3 separate regions of the Homo sapiens genome follow, and regions 1 and 3 are each linked to region 2. The links are contacts of gene promoters, found by promoter capture Hi-C in blood cells and fetal thymus (Javierre and others, 2016). All regions are on one chromosome and are shown on one strand. The core of a region is centred on a gene start or on the middle of the fragment in contact, and the rest is flanking DNA. Distances in the headings are between cores, read along the strand shown.

What was found. Contacts are between HindIII fragments. The CHiCAGO score rates a contact against its expected background, and 5 or more counts as called.
Region 1: a contact is called between the fragment with the promoter of OR14K1 here and the fragment with the promoter of OR2T8 in region 2, in 2 of 17 cell types (endothelial precursors and M2 macrophages). The highest score is 5.9, in endothelial precursors.
Region 3: a contact is called between a fragment that was not itself captured here and the fragment with the promoter of OR2T8 in region 2, in 1 of 17 cell types (megakaryocytes). The highest score is 7.1, in megakaryocytes.

What each region holds. Positions count from the first base shown.
Region 1 is chr1:247,737,046-247,741,371 of GRCh38, forward strand. It overlaps OR14K1 (olfactory receptor family 14 subfamily K member 1), which reads left to right and starts at 1,570. Exons shown (of 1, transcript NM_001004732.2): 1 at 1,570-2,514. The coding sequence starts at 1,570. The coding sequence ends at 2,514. The region is part of intron 1 of OR14A2 (olfactory receptor family 14 subfamily A member 2); the gene reads right to left. The HindIII fragment of the contact is 3,693 bases long and covers 1-3,109 here.
Region 2 is chr1:247,917,344-247,922,048 of GRCh38, forward strand. OR2T8 (olfactory receptor family 2 subfamily T member 8) reads left to right here and starts at 2,909. Exons shown (of 2, transcript NM_001005522.2): 1 at 2,909-3,175; 2 at 3,655-4,705. The coding sequence starts at 3,675. The coding sequence ends at 4,613. The HindIII fragment of the contact is 5,046 bases long and covers 2,173-4,705 here.
Region 3 is chr1:247,697,557-247,702,017 of GRCh38, forward strand. No RefSeq gene overlaps it. Among named protein-coding and RNA genes, the nearest start is that of OR6F1, 17 kb to the right of the region's middle. The HindIII fragment of the contact is 1,321 bases long and covers 2,361-3,681 here.

The DNA.
Region 1 (4,326 bases), core at 320-2,819, 180 kb before region 2:
CTCAGCCTCCTAAAATGCTGTGATTACCGGCATGAGCCACCATGCCTGGTCCCTTTTCAACTTTAAATCACTTGTTAATTTAGTTCTCAGAAAATCACTTGTACTGAAATGGACATATTCTATGAAGGTTAGAGGTACGACTGCTCATCCTGGAAAAGCTCTGTTTATTCTTGCTCATCCTCTCGGCTGTGTGTGTGTGCATATGTGTGTATAGAGAAGGAGGAGAATGTATGTTGTAATGGTCTGCTACATTCTCTTTCAGTTGAAAAACTGCTGAACAACAAAGTGAGACTCTCTTGTGTCTACAAAAATAAAATATTTTTTAAGTTGAAAAGACTCAAGAGCAAATGGAAATCTCATGCTATGTTGCAAACTTTGGGTGTTCTTGTTGGAAAAAGCACTGGCAGTAGCTTTAGAGCAATAATGGAGAGCCTGACTTATAGCTCAACATGAGCAAGTTCATGGCTGCCCCAAACTTAAAGCCTCCTCTGTTTGACCTGCTGGGGAGAATAAAACCTAGAGCAGTGTCTACATACCCTAAGAGCTACTTCCAAACTAGCAAACCGTCCATCCTGTTTTCTGTTCTGTGTGTTTTAGAGATGGCCTGGAAACCAAAGGGGAAAGTGAAAAAATTGCCATTGAAGTGATACTAAAGTAAAATCAAGAGAGGTTCTAAAGACAAGATGATCTGAGGGAAAAACATGGCCAAAACTCTCCCTCACGTTGGGGTGTGCGAGGGATCTCAGATGACAATCTCTGAATGTCTATCACATAAGAGGACACACTGCATCTCTGGTTAGATGCAGTAGATATCCCTGTCTGTCGCTTCCTGTGTTTAATTAAATCCTTCCTAGAATATTATGTTAATCATCTGGCTAAGTCTCAGGTTTTTGTTCTTTTCATGAAAAATGACACTATATATTTGAAAACTGATTTGTGAAAATAACGAGTACTTTTTAATTTTTGTGCTATGCTATGTATATGGACTAAAGAAAGAAAAAAATGATACTATAATCACATTTTCACCAAAGGAGTAAACTTTAATGCAAAAATGGGAGAATAATCTTAACATCCTTCAGTGAGAAGGGGATAGTAAATTAGAGTATCACCTGAGGATAATGACTATTTTAAATATTGCAGTAAGTAGCAAGCAGAAATTTCATTCACAACATTTAATACACACAAAACTACATTAACCGGGATATTTATACATGAAAATGTATGCCCTATTGCAGTTTTATATATAATTGCATAGCCAACCCTGTAATTCCCAAAGGAAATAAAATCACTCAAAAGTCATTTCAAGTAATGAGGGAGAGAAGTGAAGTTCTTTGCTTCTTTCACAATAAATCTTAGTCCAGGACTACTAAGTGTTAGACTGATATACCCACAGTTGTTTTACACCTGAGTCCATGAGAAATATAAATTGCTTGATATTTTTAAACTTTTTGTCTAGGCCTTGATGCTACACATACCTTCATTCAACAAATGAAGAAACAAATGATACTTTTTAATATTAGTATGACACTTATTTTCCTTTACTCCATAGGGCGCTTATAATTTTGAACTATGACCAATCAGACACAGATGATGGAATTCTTGCTTGTGAGATTTACTGAGAATTGGGTGCTCCTGAGGCTGCATGCTTTGCTCTTCTCACTGATCTACCTCACGGCTGTGCTGATGAATTTAGTCATCATTCTCCTCATGATTCTGGACCATCGTCTCCACATGGCAATGTACTTTTTCCTCCGACATTTGTCCTTCTTAGACCTGTGTCTCATTTCTGCCACAGTCCCCAAATCCATCCTCAACTCTGTCGCCTCCACTGACTCCATCTCCTTCCTGGGGTGTGTGTTGCAGCTCTTCTTGGTGGTACTGCTGGCTGGATCAGAGATTGGCATCCTTACTGCCATGTCCTATGACCGCTATGCTGCCATCTGCTGCCCCCTACACTGTGAGGCTGTCATGAGCAGAGGGCTCTGTGTCCAGTTGATGGCTCTGTCCTGGCTCAACAGAGGGGCCTTGGGACTCTTGTACACAGCTGGAACATTCTCTCTGAATTTTTATGGCTCTGATGAGCTACATCAGTTCTTCTGCGATGTCCCTGCCCTACTAAAGCTCACTTGTTCTAAAGAACATGCCATCATTAGTGTCAGTGTGGCCATTGGGGTCTGTTATGCATTTTCATGTTTAGTTTGCATTGTAGTTTCCTATGTGTACATTTTCTCTGCTGTGTTAAGGATATCACAGAGACAGAGACAATCCAAAGCCTTTTCCAACTGTGTGCCTCACCTCATTGTTGTCACTGTGTTTCTTGTAACAGGTGCTGTTGCTTATTTAAAGCCAGGGTCTGATGCACCTTCTATTCTAGACTTGCTGGTGTCTGTGTTCTATTCTGTCGCACCTCCAACCTTGAACCCTGTTATCTACTGTCTGAAGAACAAGGACATTAAATCCGCTCTGAGTAAAGTCCTGTGGAATGTTAGAAGCAGTGGGGTAATGAAAAGATGACTAAAGTTGAAGATGGGAAGTAACTTTTTTTGTTGTTGTTGTTCTGCCATCCACTAGCTGTTTAAAATTATCTCTATTTTGGGATAAAAATGTCATGGAGTCTTGCTACTGATAATCTCAAGCAGTCAGTTTTAATAGAAATAGAAAGCAACTATTTTCCTACAATTTTTGCACTTTTTTTTTTTAAAATTTTGAGACGGAATCTCTCTCTGTCATCCAGGCTGGAGTGCAGGGGCGTGATCTTGGCTCAAGCAATTATCATGTCTCGGCTTCCCAAGTAGCTGGGATTACAGGTGTATGCAACCACGCCCAGCTATTTGTTTGTGTTTTTAGTAGAGACGGAGTTCCACCATGTTGGCCAGGCTGGTCTTGAATTCCTGACCTCAAGCAATCCGTTGGTCTCAGCCTCCAAAAGTGTTGGGATTACAGCGTAAGCCACCGTGCCCATCTCTTTTCCTATACTTCTTCACTTGACATCTGTTATTCATGTAGAAATAATTAAAGTTTTCCTATGACAACTTCAATGATTTTTACTCTTGTTCTGAAGATCCACATGCATTGCATGAGATTTGTATGAGGTTCTCATACCTCAAAAAGCTTTCATCTTTTCGGCATTCTCTTCAGTTAGTTTCTGCTTTATTGTCCTATCTTTTCCAGCATTCTCTTCAGTTAGTTTCTGCTTTATTGTCCTAGATTTTGCATTGCATCTCAGGTTTTATCGATTCAACGTTCTTTATAGCTTCTGATTTTCACTATTTGGTAAAAGTTGTAATTTTAACTTAAAGTTATGATTTCAACTTACTTTTACAGTTTAAAAAATGTACTCAATTTTATTGCATTTTACCTATTTGATTCATGTGTGCTTGGTAGATTTTATACAATTACCCAAACACTTAGGAAGGTGATTTTCTCATGTCTTTTTAAAAATAAATTATGTTTTTGGAGTAGAATATTTTTCTCTTCATTAAAACTTCTTTTTCTCTAATGTGTTGATTCCTGACTTGTGCAAATTGCTTTCATAATGTATTAGAATTAATGAAATAGCATTTAGCACTGTTTCTAACATTGTGATAAATTATACATTTTCTGGACCTTTAATATTATATAACATTTCAAGTACCCTAAATGTGTAGAATTGTTTTCTACTCCTTGCTGCAGGAGACAATCGTCGTATCACCCTATTTGTCCTCTTGCTGCTTCTTTCCTAGAGATGGAAATTAACATTTGTTGCCTAATTTCACTGTATCAGACACTTTTGTGTATACCACCTCTATTAATCCTCTGACTGATATGAGGCAGCATGTAATACTGTTAAGCAGATGGGACAGCTGAGACTGAGCATCTTTTTGTTTATGTTACTCATAACTTAAGAATGTAATAAAATATGTTTCTAGCCTTTGGCAATACCTTTCAAACTCTGTATGCTCACTACAGCATCTTTGAAACTTGGTCCATATTAGCTTCCTCATGAAATCTTCTATTTGCCCAAATTCTACCCAAATATTAAAATCTAGCTTAGATTTTTAGAGTCTAGCTATAAAATATTATGAAAGTGCTTAATTACATATTTCTCTGTCTCTAAACTCTTGTATGTCATTGTATGTATTGTATGTCAGAAAATAATTTAAATATCTTCTAGTGAGCTTTGCACAAATATTTGACAGAAAATAAATATATTTTTAAAATTTGTTTAACACAGAAACTGGATTATCTAATGCCTGCATGGAAAGTTCATGCATAAACTCTTTGATTTACTCTTACAGTGCAGTTCACAGTTGTGAGCATATAATGGTTTTGTCACTACTTCTTTAA
Region 2 (4,705 bases), core at 1,659-4,158:
CACATCTATTTACATTTCATTTTTGCTCCTAAATAATTCTCTCTTCTTTCAATAAATCGCAGCTTTCCAAAAGCATTTTGGAAGTATATTAAAATTATGGGTATTTATAAAATGTCCCTGAAAATTAAACATCTTTGGCAGCCAAAGTGGCAAGCTCATGCCTCTCTGGTTTATTAATCAGAGTTGATTTAGGTCACACCCCTAAACAGTAGACTGTAGACACTGATACAAGTGAAGCCAACACAGCCAGGCTGGAAGAGCTTTTCTCGATGCTGCTCAGACAGGATCCAGCCTTTTGGGAGGAGTCATCACTTTTATCTTCTGTAAGTAGAAAATCTGTGATTCTGTAAATACTAATCACTTAATATTTAATAATTTTCCTGTAAAGTTTGAACTCTAGATAATTCACAGCTATATATCTTTACGTATTTTACAAATAAAATTCTATTATCCATTCTACAACCTGAAGAATCAAAAGTTGCTAGCTGACACAGTCATCAGGTTAAATTCCTGTAATAACCTGTCAATTTTGTCAAATATATGATTTGGCTGTTTCCAATTTATTTTCTGACAGGACAAATTGATTAATCATTTTAGTATCATGGGGAGGAGAGTTACAGTTTTACTATTAAGTTTTGGCAACAGGGATCAGAAAAGCACAGAATGGAATGTTAGAGGCATTGTTCTCAGTGTTCTGTGATTACTTGACGAATTATTGATGAGAAAAAAGGAAGGGATATATACGTGCCTTCTACTAGCATTGCAAAAGAGATCAGTGTGATTTAAAGTAAAAATGTCCACATTTTATCACCATTCTAAGTAAGAAACTATGGGGACAGAAGAAAATATAGTTCAAAATTCTCTAGCTTTCTAAGCTATAGTGAAGAAAGAAAAGGAAAATATTTATTTTTCAGGGTAATACTTTATCATACTTCTTTCTACACTAGTCAATCTTGAATTTTCAACCCTCTGTTAAATGAAATTATAGACATTTTATTAGCAAGATTATTTAATTCTTCATTTTTCATTTAACTGTTCTTTGTATCCATGGCCAATTTTTAAAAAAAATTATCCCAAATAATCATTTTTGTAGGTTTATAAACATTTTAATTAGTGGCAAATTATCTTAGCTTTGTAACATAAAAATATAGACAGTAATTTCAATAAAGCAAATAATTTAATATTATCACATCGTAGAAAAATACAGTTATCTACTAATTTTATTTAACACATTTAATTAATCATTTCGTGAAATAATCTGAATGCTATGGCATGATGACCAGTTAGACTGATACAAACTGATAATTTTTATACACCTGGAAATAAAGAATTTTTATTCCACATAAACATAAAGAATAGAAATATTATCTATTTTCACTGAAAAGGTACAAGCTAATGACATCAAATTTTACAAACTATTTAACCATAGTAGGAACTTCATAATAAGAAAATGTATTTCCTGAACTGAAAAGTCATGCAAGTTGTTGAGATTATTCTCTGAAAACATATGAACCAGTCTGGCACAATTTAAGCGGCTAATTAATTGCAATTGCTATATTTTTATGCTATATATGTTTACCTTACCAAAATAAAAAAAACTAACATCTGTCGTGAAACATTCCATTAAAATGATACTTAAACATACAGCTGAAGTGAGTGGGAGCAACGTTAATGGCTATGACTGGATAATTGAACAAACTGTTATATATGCAGATAATGAAATAGTATTCACCCTTTGGAAGGAAATTCTGACACATGGGATGAACCTTGAGGACATTATGATAAGTGAAATAAGCCAGTCACAGACACACACACACACACACACACACACACACACACACAATACCACATGATTCCATTTATATGAGGTTTCTAAAACACTCAAATTTATAGAGACACAAAATAGAATGGTGGTTGCTGGGGGCTGTGTGTGAGAAGAATGGGGAGTTATTTCACAGTGGGTACAGAATTTCAATTTAGGGAGGTGAAATGAGATTCATAGATGGATATTGTGGATGGTCATACAACAATATGATTATACTTGAAGCCACTGTACTGATTGTGCCTTAAAAATATTTAATATGATAGAAAAAATAATTTAAGAAACTTGTCCAACACCCTACAGTTATGACATTACAGACTGATTTTTTAAAAGATATTTAAAGTTGATCAAGCTTCAACACTAAGGAAGGTTGGGAAAACGGAGAAATGGAAGATATCGAGTGAAAGAAATGAGTCAGGAGGGTTTTGAGGTCTTTCAGCAAAGTGACACTAAGGGCTGTAATTAGAGATTTTGTATAGTTCCTACGTGTAGAAAGTACATGTTATTGCATTTTCTAAGAAGTAAAAAGAAAAAAATAGAGCATGTTAGAGATACGAAGGTGTGAAGATCACAAAGTTTTGTCAAATGCAGAATTTATTTGTCAAGAAGGACATATGTATATTTCCATGATGTTTAAATTTTAAACAACCAAATAAAACCCTCAGGTATTGTGCTGCCCGTACAATTATGATGCTCAAGTAATGCACTCTGGTATTGACTGACGCAACTGCACTGCCTTTCCCAGTCGTGACTGGCATTTTAGTTTAGGGTGGATACAAAAAGTGGAGGCAAAGGGAATGCGCATGGAAGAGATGGGCTCCTTCTGCCATATAACTTTATTGAATTAGACCATATCCTTGAGATTGAATCAGCATCAATACCTCTGCAGGTGTGGCGACATTTATTCAACAAGGTAGAAAACTTCCTGCACCAGCAGATCTAAGATGAAAATGTCTATAAAGATTTCATTTCTCTTGAGACTGAAGAAGACATTAATTTATCTCTGTGATTGGATAAAGATCTTAGTTTTCTTTTTTCTCCTTTACCTGGTAAAGGTTATACTTGTGGACTGATGAGAAAAAGTCTCATTGCAACAAAGTACCTTGTACAGTTAATGAAAATGTGTGTTTACCATTATACTCTTACACTGCAAAGAAATAAAAAATATCCAAGAAGGTCAGTACTGTTTTCAGTCTATCACCTATAAAGGAGGACTAAATGTGTTCACAACTCCAAATTAACTATGTTTTCATCTGCAGACTCAGCCTTTCCAGACCTGAGAATATAAGTCACCCTCTTTAGAAAGGAAAAAAAGTCTTCTTGGATTAAGTCAGGGAAAACTGCCTGATTTTGGTAGGTTTCAATGAGTTTTGATATGTTATAGACCCACAACCTTCACAGTCAAGGATGTAGTTTTATATAATGAAATATACTGACTTAATTCAGCTTCTAAAATATTGACTATGCATGATGTAACTCAAGCACAAATAAAGTGACAAATTATGTGAATCATTTCATTCTCACTCACTTATGATGGTACCAGATAAAGCAAAACCATTCTGACAGGTTACTTGCAACTTATCCAGAACGTGGATTTGTGATATAAAATTAATCAATACTTAGCCTGAGAAGCATTTATTATGAAATCCTTGGAAATGAGAAAAAGTTTAATTAATTTTATGCACAAATTAGAACATTTTGCAAGTGGCAAATGAAAGATTTGACATAGGTTTCATCGCTTTCACACAAGTACTTTTCTATTTTTTTACTACGTAACTCAAATGGAGTACCATAAAGGATAAACACTCTGTCTTCTTTTTCTCCATTTGCAGTGTCACTCTTATTTGAAATCATGGAAAATGGGAGCTATACCTCTTATTTCATTCTCCTAGGACTCTTTAACCACACCAGAGCCCACCAAGTCCTCTTCATGATGGTTCTGAGTATCGTTTTGACCTCCCTGTTTGGCAATTCCCTCATGATTCTCCTGATTCACTGGGACCACCGGCTCCACACGCCCATGTACTTCCTCCTGAGCCAACTTTCCCTCATGGACGTGATGCTGGTTTCCACCACTGTGCCCAAAATGGCGGCTGACTACTTGACCGGAAGTAAGGCCATCTCCCGCGCTGGCTGTGGTGCGCAGATCTTCTTCCTCCCCACACTGGGTGGTGGAGAGTGCTTCCTCTTAGCAGCCATGGCCTATGACCGCTATGCGGCTGTCTGCCACCCACTCCGATATCCCACTCTCATGAGCTGGCAGCTGTGCCTGAGGATGAACCTGTCGTGTTGGCTCCTGGGTGCAGCTGACGGGCTCCTGCAGGCTGTTGCTACCCTGAGCTTCCCATATTGCGGTGCACACGAGATCGATCACTTCTTCTGCGAGACCCCCGTGCTGGTGCGTTTGGCTTGTGCTGACACTTCAGTCTTCGAAAACGCCATGTACATCTGCTGTGTGTTAATGCTCCTGGTCCCCTTTTCCCTCATCCTGTCCTCCTATGGTCTCATCCTCGCTGCTGTTCTGCACATGCGCTCTACAGAAGCCCGCAAGAAGGCCTTTGCCACCTGCTCTTCACATGTGGCTGTGGTGGGACTCTTTTATGGAGCTGCCATTTTTACCTATATGAGACCCAAATCCCACAGGTCCACTAACCACGACAAGGTTGTGTCAGCCTTCTATACTATGTTCACCCCTTTACTAAACCCCCTCATCTACAGTGTGAAGAACAGTGAGGTGAAGGGAGCCCTGACAAGGTGTATGGGTCGGTGTGTGGCCTTAAGTCGTGAATAAGACTATATATTTGCCCCAACATTCAAAACTGTGCAAAGTGTTTGTGTGGAATTTCCTAGAAATAAGGAATATACACTTTTATTTCTACATCT
Region 3 (4,461 bases), core at 1,771-4,270, 220 kb before region 2:
GCTCTTCTAGCCTTTGTTCAAGATTCCTATGAAGAGTCTTCATTCTGTAATTGGGTTTACCTGTGTAGTCAATCAGCGGGGTCACTTCTTGTCAGCCCCCTTCCACCCAGTCCCCAAGTGTCCTGCTAGGGCACCTCCTCTTTCCATACAAATGTGGCCTCCAGATCAAGAATTCATTGACTATGGTCCTCTCCCATGGGAGGATGTACACATAGGAATTGTTCACTCTCTATTTGAGGGCTGTGAAGATGCTGCAAATGACAACTAGAATAAATACAGAGCACATGAGCTGTGAAAAGCCCATGACTCCGTATAACAGGAATTCTTGCTGTTAGGTGGCAGGCTTCCCTGTGTGTACCCTGTTAGAAAAATACATGATATTATACATGAAAAACCATAATCAATGATAAAATGAATATCAACAATAAAATAATTCAACATGGTAGCAGGATATAAAGTTAAGATGCAAAAGTCAGTAGCATTCATATAACAAATGGTAGCCATAAAATGTAATGAATAGTTAAAACCCAACTTACCAAAAATTGATCTGAATCCATGTGAAGAAAACCATAAAACATCCTGAAAGATACCAGATAGACAAGGCAAGGACTAGAACAGTATGGACCATTTCTTCTCACTCCACTCTACTAAGCACAAATATAAAACCTGGACAACTATAAAAGTGAAACCACAGAGGAACGTTTAAATGTGGTAGGAAGAATGCAACCTAGTTTGGGAACCCAAAACTGGATGAACAACACAGTGATGGGGTATCCTAGTCCCCCACTTGACTCAAGAAGGAGAAACAGACCCAATCTTTTTAAATTCCCAACATACCAACAAACACAGACCAGCTAGGCTTACCCTCCCACAGGTCAAACCATACTGCATTACTATAAGAGCAAGAGCAAAATGATCTCACTAACAATTAGAAGGCAAGGGAAGCACTCTACACTCTTGTCAGGCCTGAGACCCTCCAATCCATCTAAACCTGCTAACCCTACTGCTGAGCAGAGCCAGCAAGAGGGACTCTACCAAAAGGAGTAATATTTCTGGAAAGTCTCTATCCCCCAGCCCCTAGAACAGCAGTCCTTAACCTTTTTGGCACCAGGGACCAGTTTTGGGGAAGACAATTTTTCCACAGGTGGAGGAGGTTAAGGGAGGATTCAAGTGCATTACATTTATTGTGCACTTTATTTCTATTATATATATATATATATATATATATATATATATATATATATATATATTTATTTATTTATTTACAACTCACCATGATGTAGAATCAGTGGGAGCCCTGAGCTTGTTTTCCTGCAACCAGACAGTCCCATCTGGGCATGATGGGAGACAGTGACAGATTATCAGGCATTAGATTCTCACTGGAGTGCACAATCTAGATCCCTCGCATGCACAGTTCACAGTAGGGCTCACACTCCTATGAGAATCTCACGCCATCGCTGATCTGACAAGAGGCGAGATCAGGAACCATAATCGTCTGTGGCCAGGGGATTGGGGACCCCTGCCATGGGAGACCCCAAAGTAGCCAAAGACCACCAGCAAATATGATTATCCCAAAATAGGCACAGTGAGAGGTCAAGGAAACCTCTTTTCTCCAGAAACCTGATACTCCTCTCCCATGCCAATTGGGCCTATCACTACTGATCCTTCAGCTATTGAAAAGACAATACAACCAACTTTATGCTCATAAATTCAACAACTTAGAAAAAAGAATAGACCAATTTCTTAAAAATTGTAAACTACCTAAACTCAACGAAGATGAAAGAGGTAATATGAATATTCCCATAACCACTAAGGAAATTTAATTTATAAATTAAAGCCTCTGACAGAGACATTTTCAGTCCAAAATGGTTCACTAAAGAATTGACCAAACTTTTAAAGAAAATATTAATGTGGATTTTATACAATATCTTATGAGGTTAATTTTTGTTTTGTTTTGTTTTGTTTTTGAGACAGAGTTCGCTCAGTAGCCCAGGCTGGAGGGCAATGGCACGATCTCAGCTCACTGCAACCTCCACCTCCCGGGTTCAAGCGATTCTCCCATCTCAACCTCCTGAGTAGCTGGAATTACAGGAACCTGCAATCCTGCCTGGCTAATTTTTGTATTTTTAGTAGATACGGGGTTTCACCATATTGGCCAGGCTGGTGTTGAACCCCTGACGTCAATTAATACAACAAAGAAAATATAAAAACAGTACACACAAAAAAAATTACACTATTTCTTATGACCAGTGACTCTTATGAGCCTAGATATAAAATCTTTAACAAAATATGAAAACAAATCTAACAATGTATAAAAAGTATGGGATAACACAACAAAGGACATTTACTCCAGGTATGCAAGCTTAGTTCAATATTTGAAAATTAATAGAATCAACTATGTTAACAGGGAAAAGATGCAGCAAAAGCATTTGTCGAAATTCAGCTCTTATTTATAATCATTTTATTTAAAATTTTCAGTAAGTCAAAAATAGACAAATTATCTTAACCTGCTGAAGACCATCTACAAAAAATCTACAGGTAACATCAGACTTAATAAAGACTAAATGCTTTTCCAAATAGTAGGGAACAAGGTAAGAATGTCCATTTTCATCTTTCTTACTCAATAAAAAGGTACTGGAAGTTCTAGCTTCTATAATAAGAGAAGGAAAAATAATAAAAGGTATAGAGATCGGAAAAGAAGAAAGAAAACAATCTCTAGTTGCAGATGACATTTTGTCTATGTAGAAATTCCCAAAGAATCTGCAAAAAAAAGATAAACATCCAATTTTAAAAGGATCATAAGACATGGATAGATATTTCACTAGAGAGGATATACACATGGCAAATAAACACATGAAAATATGTTCAAAATGACTAGCCATTAAATAAATGTAAATTTAAACTGTCACGGGCTATCAGAATGACTATTTTTTTTTTTAAATCAGGATAAAGAAAAACTGGATTGCTTATGCATTGCTAGTGGGAATGTAAAATGGTACGGTGCCTCTGGAAAACAGGTTCATCAGGTTCTTATAAAACTCAACATGCAATTATTATACAATCCGACACTTCTACTCTTGGGTGTTAATCCCACAGGAATGAAGATACATATATATACATATATATTTCATATATGCATATATGTATATACATATATATGCAATATGTCCCATATATCTATATATACAATATGTCCCATATATCTATATATACATATATGTCCCATATAGCTATATATACATATATGCCATATATGTGCATACATATATGTATACACGTGCATACATAAATGTCCCATACATGTATACATGTATACACATACATGCCCCAGATAGGTATATGTGCATACATGTCCCATATATGTATATGTACATATATGTATGCACATATATGCCATATATGTATGCACATATATGCCATAGATGTATATATGTATATATACACATATGTATATATGGGTATATAAACATATATGTCATATGTATATATACACATATATGTCATGTATATATACACATATATGTCATATGTATATATACACATATATGTCATTTGTATATATACACATATATGTCATTTGTATATATACACATATATGTCATTTGTATATATACACATATATGTCATTTGTATATATACACATATATATTACAAACTTGTACATGAAAGCTCGTAGATAGAAGCTTTCTTCATAATTTTCAAAAAGTGAAAGCATCCCAGAAGTCCTTCAATAGGTGAATGGTTAAATGAACTGTGAAACATACATAGCATCGTATGCTACTTGAAATAAAAAGAAGTAAACTATTGATATACATAACAATTTTGATAATCTCAAAGAAACCATGCTGAGTAATAAAAGGTAATACTATAATATTACAAGTTGTATGATCCACTTATAAAACATTGTTGAGATAATAAAATGTTAGGAAAGGAAACAGATTGGTGGTTGCCAGCGATAAAGGATAAGCAGTGGAAAGGAAGTGGTTGCTATAAAAGGGCAACATAAGAGGTCCTTTTGGTGATGGAACTGTTTATTATCTTTGCTACAGTGGTGGATAAACCTTCACATGTGATAAAATTATACAGAAATAAATTCACACACACAAATAAGTGAAAGTAAAACTGGGGAAATTGGAATAAGATTGTGAATTTTATCAATGTCAATTGCTGTTTGTGATATTGTACTAAAGTTTTGCAAAATGTTACCATTGTGAGAAACTAGTAAACTGTACCAAGAACCTCTTAGTATTATTTCTTAAAACTACATGTGAAACTAAAATGACCTTATAATAACAAATTTTAATGGAAAAGTATACTTGCATAAATTGAAATGTAATCTATGTTCTAAGTTAGAAAGTCTCATGAAATGGTCAGTTCTAAAGTTATTTTTATACATTTAATACAAAAGCAATGAAAACTGCAAGCTTTTTGGTCAAGCTAGACACATGATCCTAAATCATG